Regions from separate parts of the Homo sapiens genome. Here region 1 is linked to region 2. The links are contacts of gene promoters, found by promoter capture Hi-C in blood cells and fetal thymus (Javierre and others, 2016). All regions are on one chromosome and are shown on one strand. The core of a region is centred on a gene start or on the middle of the fragment in contact, and the rest is flanking DNA. Distances in the headings are between cores, read along the strand shown.

The links. Contacts are between HindIII fragments. The CHiCAGO score rates a contact against its expected background, and 5 or more counts as called.
Region 1: a contact is called between a fragment that was not itself captured here and the fragment with the promoter of MYOC in region 2, in 1 of 17 cell types (M1 macrophages). The highest score is 5.1, in M1 macrophages.

What each region holds. Positions count from the first base shown.
Region 1 is chr1:172,428,655-172,432,067 of GRCh38, forward strand. The region is part of intron 1 of C1orf105 (chromosome 1 open reading frame 105); the gene reads left to right. Among named protein-coding and RNA genes, the nearest start is that of C1orf105, 9.7 kb to the left of the region's middle. RefSeq lists an enhancer at 174-696. The HindIII fragment of the contact is 2,261 bases long and covers 263-2,523 here.
Region 2 is chr1:171,651,254-171,654,609 of GRCh38, forward strand. MYOC (myocilin) reads right to left here and starts at 1,435. Exons shown (of 3, transcript NM_000261.2): 1 at 755-1,435. The coding sequence starts at 1,358. The HindIII fragment of the contact is 6,597 bases long and covers 1-3,356 here.

The DNA of each region.
Region 1 (3,413 bases), core at 143-2,642, 780 kb after region 2:
GACCTCTTTATTTAATGCTATGCCACTTTTTTCTTTTTTCCATAGCACTTACTACCTTCCATTTATGTTTATTATCTATCTCCTCCTGCTATAATGTCAGCTCTACTAGGTCAAGAACCTTTGTCCTTTTTATTTACAGATATATTCCAAGCACACAGAACAGTATTTGTCATACAGTAAGTACTCAAAAAATATTTATTGACAATAAATTCCTGAAGCCACACACTATAAAAATCTGAATGGTAGAAGGTGAGTAGAGGGAAGCTTATGTAGATACTAAATATTTTGTTGGATTTTGGGGGATACTGTTGGATACTGGGGGAAGAGAATAAGGGATAAGGGAACGATGAGGAATTTGACAAAGCATTAAAAGCAACTGCCTACCATTATCCTTCAGTCCTGGGCTCCATTCAGGCACAAGCACAGGCTTTGTGTAAGAAAAGCAAAGTATTAGCCCAAGTTGGTAACATAGCCTTAGGCAATACTTAACCCACTCTGAGTCTCAGTCTCAACTGTGAAATGGAAATAAAACCTCTTACAGGATTGCTGTGAGAAGTAAATACAAATATACACACACACACACACACACACACACACACACAGACACACACACACATACACACACAACGTGCATAGCACGTTACCTAGCACGCATTGGGTGCTCTAAAATACAGGTGCTATTATTTATCAAACCCCAGTATGCTATTTACCTCCTGAATTTATGGAGACCTCAGACTCATTAATTCAGGTGTAGTTATTTCCCAAACCACAATTCAGCAAGAATTTCAAGACTCTAATTGCATCTCTTATAAAAAGGGAAATCAATCACTTCCACAAGATGGCACTGTGTCCCAGCCCTGTTTCCCTAAATACAACAGGTTTGAAATTTTGTATAACTATGTAACTGATGCCCTCTGCTGACTTGTTTTCTTTTTCTTGTCCTTGAGCCTTTGGCTTGGAGGATGTAAATGATGGCTCAATATGCATCCTCTATATGCTTGGTATGAATTATTAAATCCACAATGTAACCCAGCTGCCCAAAGTATTTCTCAAAAGTTTACTGACACCAATACAATCTCCACACAGAACACCAGGCATGTTGCTACAGCCAGATGCACAAGCCTTCTAGTTACATGCCAATCATAAATCAGCTGCATCACGCCACAAAATAAAGTGCACCTGTCATCCTATTGCTCTACTTCTTCTTAATCCCTCCCATACCAACTTTAATCCTTAATCCTTGGCACCATTTTGGAAGTGTGAGCAAAGCTGCCTCCCCATTCCTCTGTCCTTGATCTCACTTGCCACACCACCCTCCAGCCTTACCTGTAACTTAGAGTGATAAGAAGCAGAGCTGGGAGGAAGGGGTGTAGAGGGAGAAGGGCAGACAGCTTCTTATGCTGGCAAATATTTGGCAGGTTGGGATTTAATTCCAATGCTACTGTAAACTTTTCCTCCTCACCTTTCCCCCTTTCCCACACACACCACAGTATTCTCTAAAACTCTAAATCATTCATATTCTACTTGCACCCTTTCAGTGTGGTTTAAATATAAGAGACTGACTAGATCACTGAATTTAAGTGATGAGTAACTTCCCACCACAACTGTCATACTACTTTATACCAATTGTTTTCTAGGCCTGAATCCTTGTGCCAGCAGCCCACAAAGAGGCATGCCACAGGTGAGCCTCATCATCCTTCTGATGGCAGCAGTTAAGGGCTCTGGATTGCTTGACATTTTCTTAATAGAACGTTTAATGAATTTTTAATTTGCAATTTTTCTTAAACCTTTTTTTATTTATTTTTGAGACAGGGTCTTGCTTTTTGCCCATGCTGGAGTGCAGTGATGTGAACACAACTCACTGCATTCTCGACCTCCTGGGCTCAAGATCTGCCTGCCTTAACTTCTCGTGCAGCTGGGACCACAGGCACGCATCACCACCTCCAGTTAATTTTTTAAATTTTTTGTAGAGACAGAAGTCTCACTTTGTTGCCCAGGCTCGTCTCAAACTCCTGGGTTCAAGCAATTTTCCCACCTCAGCCTCCCAAAGTGCTGAGATTGCAGGTGTGAGCCATTGCGCCCAGCCAGATACAGCATTTTTTACAAATTGAAGATTTGTGGCAACCTTGTGTTAAGCAAGTCTGTCAGTGCCATTGTTCCAATTGCATGTGCTCACTTTGTGTTCCTGTGTCACATTTTGGTAATTATGACAATATTTCAAACTTTATTATCATATCTGTTATGCTGATCTGTGATCAGTGATCTTTGATGTTACCATTGCAATTGTTTTGGGGTACCACAAACTATACCCATATAAGAGGGCAAACTTAGTGGATATGTGTGTGTGTTCTGACTGCTCCACTGACCAGCTCTTCCCTGTCTTTCTTCCTCTTCTTGGGCCTCCCTATTTCCTGAGACACAACAGTATCAAAATTAAGCCAATTAATAACCCTGCAATGGCTTTTAACTGTTCAAATGAAGAGTTGCACATCTCTCATTTTAAATCAAAAGTAGAAATGATTAAGCTTAGTGAAGAAGGCATATCAAAAGCCGAGACAGGCTGAAAGCCAGGCCTCTTGTGACAAACAGCCAAGTTGTGAATGCAAATAAAAAGTTATTGAAGGAAATTAAAAGTGGTACTCCCATGATAAGAAACTAAAAGAGCCTTACTGTTAATACAGATAAAGTTATAGTGGTCTGTATAAAAGGCTAAACCAGTCACAACATTCCCTTTAGGCCAAAGCATAAACCACAACAAGGCGCTAACTCTTCTCAATTTAACAAAGGCTGAGAGAGGAGAGGAAGCTGCAGAAGAAAGGTTTGAAACTAAGAGAGGTTGATTCATGAGGTTTAAGGAAAACAGCCATCTCTGTAACATAAAAGTGCACACTAAAGCAGCAAGTGCTCATATGGAAGCTGCAAGTTATCCAGAAGATCTAGCTAAGAACATTGATGCAGGCTTCCATTCCAAGATGGCCAAATAGGAACAGCTCCAGTCTGCAGCTCCCGGCGTGATCGATGCAGAAGACAGGTGATTTCTGCATTTCCAACTGAGGTATCTGGTTCATCTCACTGGGCCTGGTTGGACAGTGAGTACAGTCGATGGAGGGTGAGCCAAAGCAGGGCGGGGCATCGCCTCACCTGGATTGCTCAAGAGGTTGGGGGATTTCCCTTTCCTAGCCAAGGGAAGCCGTGACAGACTGCACCTGGAAAAACAGGACACTCCTGCCCCAAACACTGTGCTTTTCCCAAGGTCTTAGCAACCGGCAGACAAGGAGATTCTCTCTCGTGCTTGGCTTGGTGGGTCCCATGCCCATGGGGCCTTGCTCACTGTAGCACAGCAGTCTGAAATCAAACTGTGAGGCAGCAGCCTGGCTGGGGGAGGGGCGTCCTCCATCACTGAGGCTTGAGTA
Region 2 (3,356 bases), core at 185-2,684:
GAATATTTGGGAGCCCACTTTCACAAAAAGTGACACAAATACCATCTTCCCAGCTAATAAGAAGACCTCCCCCAACACCTCACCCCCGCACCCCCCCCACACACACACAGACTCACCTTTAGGCAAGAAGGGACCAGGATGAACAGAAGAGCCTCTCAGAAAAAGCCATCTCAAGAATTTGTCTGATGACTTAAAAGCAGAGGTTCTCAGATTGGACTGAGTAAGAAAACTTTCAGAACAACATATTAAGAAAACTGACAGAGAGGTGCCATCTCTTTATTTTGCCAGGGAAGAACATTTAAAAATAAACAAAAACTTACCACTTATTATCATTTCCCAAATCTATTGTAATTTCATAAATAAAGGTCATTTTAACATCAAAAGGTACAAATAACAATCTGAGCAAAGGTTCAAAAAAGGATAGTTTTTCAAAAGGGACAATTGACAACTTTCTACTGCTCATATGCAGACACATCTCACCCGGTCCTTTTATTTCTCCTTTTGCTATGGACTGTGAAAACTGACATGGAGGGGCACAAGAACTCTGAACCACTAATCTAAATGAAGCTCTCAGGAGCTAAATTACTAGTAATACTTGAAGGTGATCGCTGTGCTTTCCTTAATTCATCTGTCTTGTGCTAGCTGTGCAGTCTCTAGGAGAAAGGGCAGGCAGGGAGGCCTGGAGCGCCTGTAGCAGGTCACTACGAGCCATATCACCTGCTGAACTCAGAGTCCCCCCACTCTGCATTCTTACCTTCTCTGGAGCCTGGTGGCACAGCCCGAGCAGTGTCTCGGGTCTGGGGACACTGGCCCCTTCTCAGCCTTGCTACCTCCTGGCTGCTGCTTTCCAACCTCCTGGCCAGATTCTCATTTTCTTGCCTTAGTCGCTTCTTCTCTTCCTCCAGAACTGACTTGTCTCGGAGGAGGTTGCTGTAGGCAGTCTCCAACTCTCTGGTTTGGGTTTCCAGCTGGTCCCGCTCCCGCCTCAGGGTGCCCAGCTCCCTCTGCAGCCCCTCCTGGGTCTCCTGGGGCCTGGCAGCCTGGTCCAAGGTCAATTGGTGGAGGAGGCTCTCCAGGGAGCTGAGTCGAGCTTTGGTGGCCTCCAGGTCTAAGCGTTGGGTGCTGCTGTCTCTCTGTAAGTTATGGATGACTGACATGGCCTGGCTCTGCTCTGGGCAGCTGGATTCATTGGGACTGGCCACACTGAAGGTATACTGGCATCGGCCACTCTGGTCATTGGCCTTCCTGAGCTGAGCTGTCCTGGCCCCCACATCCCACACCAGGCAGGCCAGAAGCAGCAGCTGGACAGCTGGCATCTCAGGCCCAAAGCTGCAGCAACGTGCACAGAAGAACCTCATTGCAGAGGCTTGGTGAGGCTTCCTCTGGAAAGCTCTGCTGTGCTGAGAGGTGCCTGGATGGGTGGCCTTGCTGGCTCATGCCCGAGCTCCAGAGAGGTTTATATATACTGGGGAGCCAGCCCTTCATGGGGGAAGACAGAGGTGGCCACGTGAGGCTGGGTGGGGCTGTGCACAGGGGGGTTGCCTTCACGCTGCCAGCAAGATTCTTAGAAAATAACCTTCCAGAAGTCTGTTTGGAGTTTCTTTTTAAAAAGAACATCCCAATTTATGCACCCATACCCCAATAATAGTTCCTATATCTCCACCTGGTTTTACACACACACACACACACACACACACGTACACACACTTACACCAGGACTACTGGTGTGCTGATTTCAACAAGGATATATTTCTAGTTTATATTTCCATTCACTCTGCAAACTCATTGAGAACCTGCACTGTGCCAGGCACTATGCTAGGAACTGGAGATCCAAACAAGTCCTTTAAGACGTAGCAGGGACAGAGAAAAATAACAGCCAGCCAGAACACAAGGACAGCACCCTACCAGGCTCCAGGGAGAGCATTCCTATAGAAGCGGCAGATTTCCCCCCTCACCCCTAGCTTTAAAACAACTGTGTATCTTTGGGAGAACTTTCTAATTTCAGTCTTGCATCTCAGGCACCAATGTCAATGTTAGCCTCTAAATCAGTTCTTACTCTGTGTGTGTGCATGCCAAGAACCTCATTGGTGAAATCTGGGGAACTCTTCTCAGAAAGATGTTTTCAAATATATAAAATATAGATTACAAAGGAAACAAATGATAATGAAATATGATTATCAAAATATCAAAATTTTAAACATGTTTTATTAATATGTTAAAAACAAGATCCAGCAGGAGGTCTAATTTCAAAGTAGTTTTGAGTATAAATATTTCACTTACAACGTATCTGCAACAACTGTAATATAGTATAAAATGTCTGTGATTTCTATTGGTAATGACAAAATCACAGGTACTGTTATTACCACTTTGAGTTTATGGCTCTATTCGCAATGGAATAAAATGTTAAATTTAGTTAGAAGGTGGTAAAAACAAAAATGTAATTTTTTCCTCATTCAAATTCACAGGCTTTCTGGACTGTAGGTTAATAATCCCTGCTTTACATTAATAAACCCAAAGAGAAAAAACAAAAAGCAAATGGCAATAGCCAATAAATATACCAAAACTGTCAGAAGTAACTTTAAGCCACTTGAAATAATGATTGCCTTTGAGCAACTTTATGTTGTTAATACCAACAACAGTGTCAATACTTGTGAAGTAAATATTTCCAAACTGCCCTGGCAGACTCACCTCCAGAGTGGAGAAACACAGTTTGCTCTAAAGATTCTATTCTTATTTGATTGGTTCTGCAGTTAAGCCTGAACTTGAGACATTTACAAATGGGTGTTTGTTTACAGCTGACCAAAGGGTACTAGTCTCATTTTCTGAATCAGATAGTAAACATCGCTGAAATGATTTTTCAAAAAACCAATCATATAGTCAGCAAGACCTAGGCTTGAATCTGTTTGGCTTTACTCTTAGGAATGTTTTCTTCCTGTTAAAAGAAACGGGATTGCCCTTGTGCTGCTAACTCCACAGAGAAAAAGAGTTCCTAATAAGGAGAAACTAAGTAATCTTACAGCCTCAGTTACTACCTTGTGACTTGCTCAGAATTACTCAGCTTGTAAAGGAAAAATATAGTATTAGAAATCAGGTCTCCCGACTTCCCTTGAACTGATTTTTTCCCCCCACAATATAGCCCTGCCTCCTAGAACCCAGGATCACGTGGACTATAATCCCTGTGGTCAATTCCCACTGCCCTTGAATGAATCTGTCTTTCTTGCTCATACACTATCCCTCTCTTTTTCTTCTCCTCCCCTGCGCTGCAGGTCACTCCGTGCTGTCAGCAGTCACTGCTGAGCTGCGTGGGGTGCTGGTCAGGGTGAAAAGTTTAACAATCTCTGGCATTTTCCACTTGC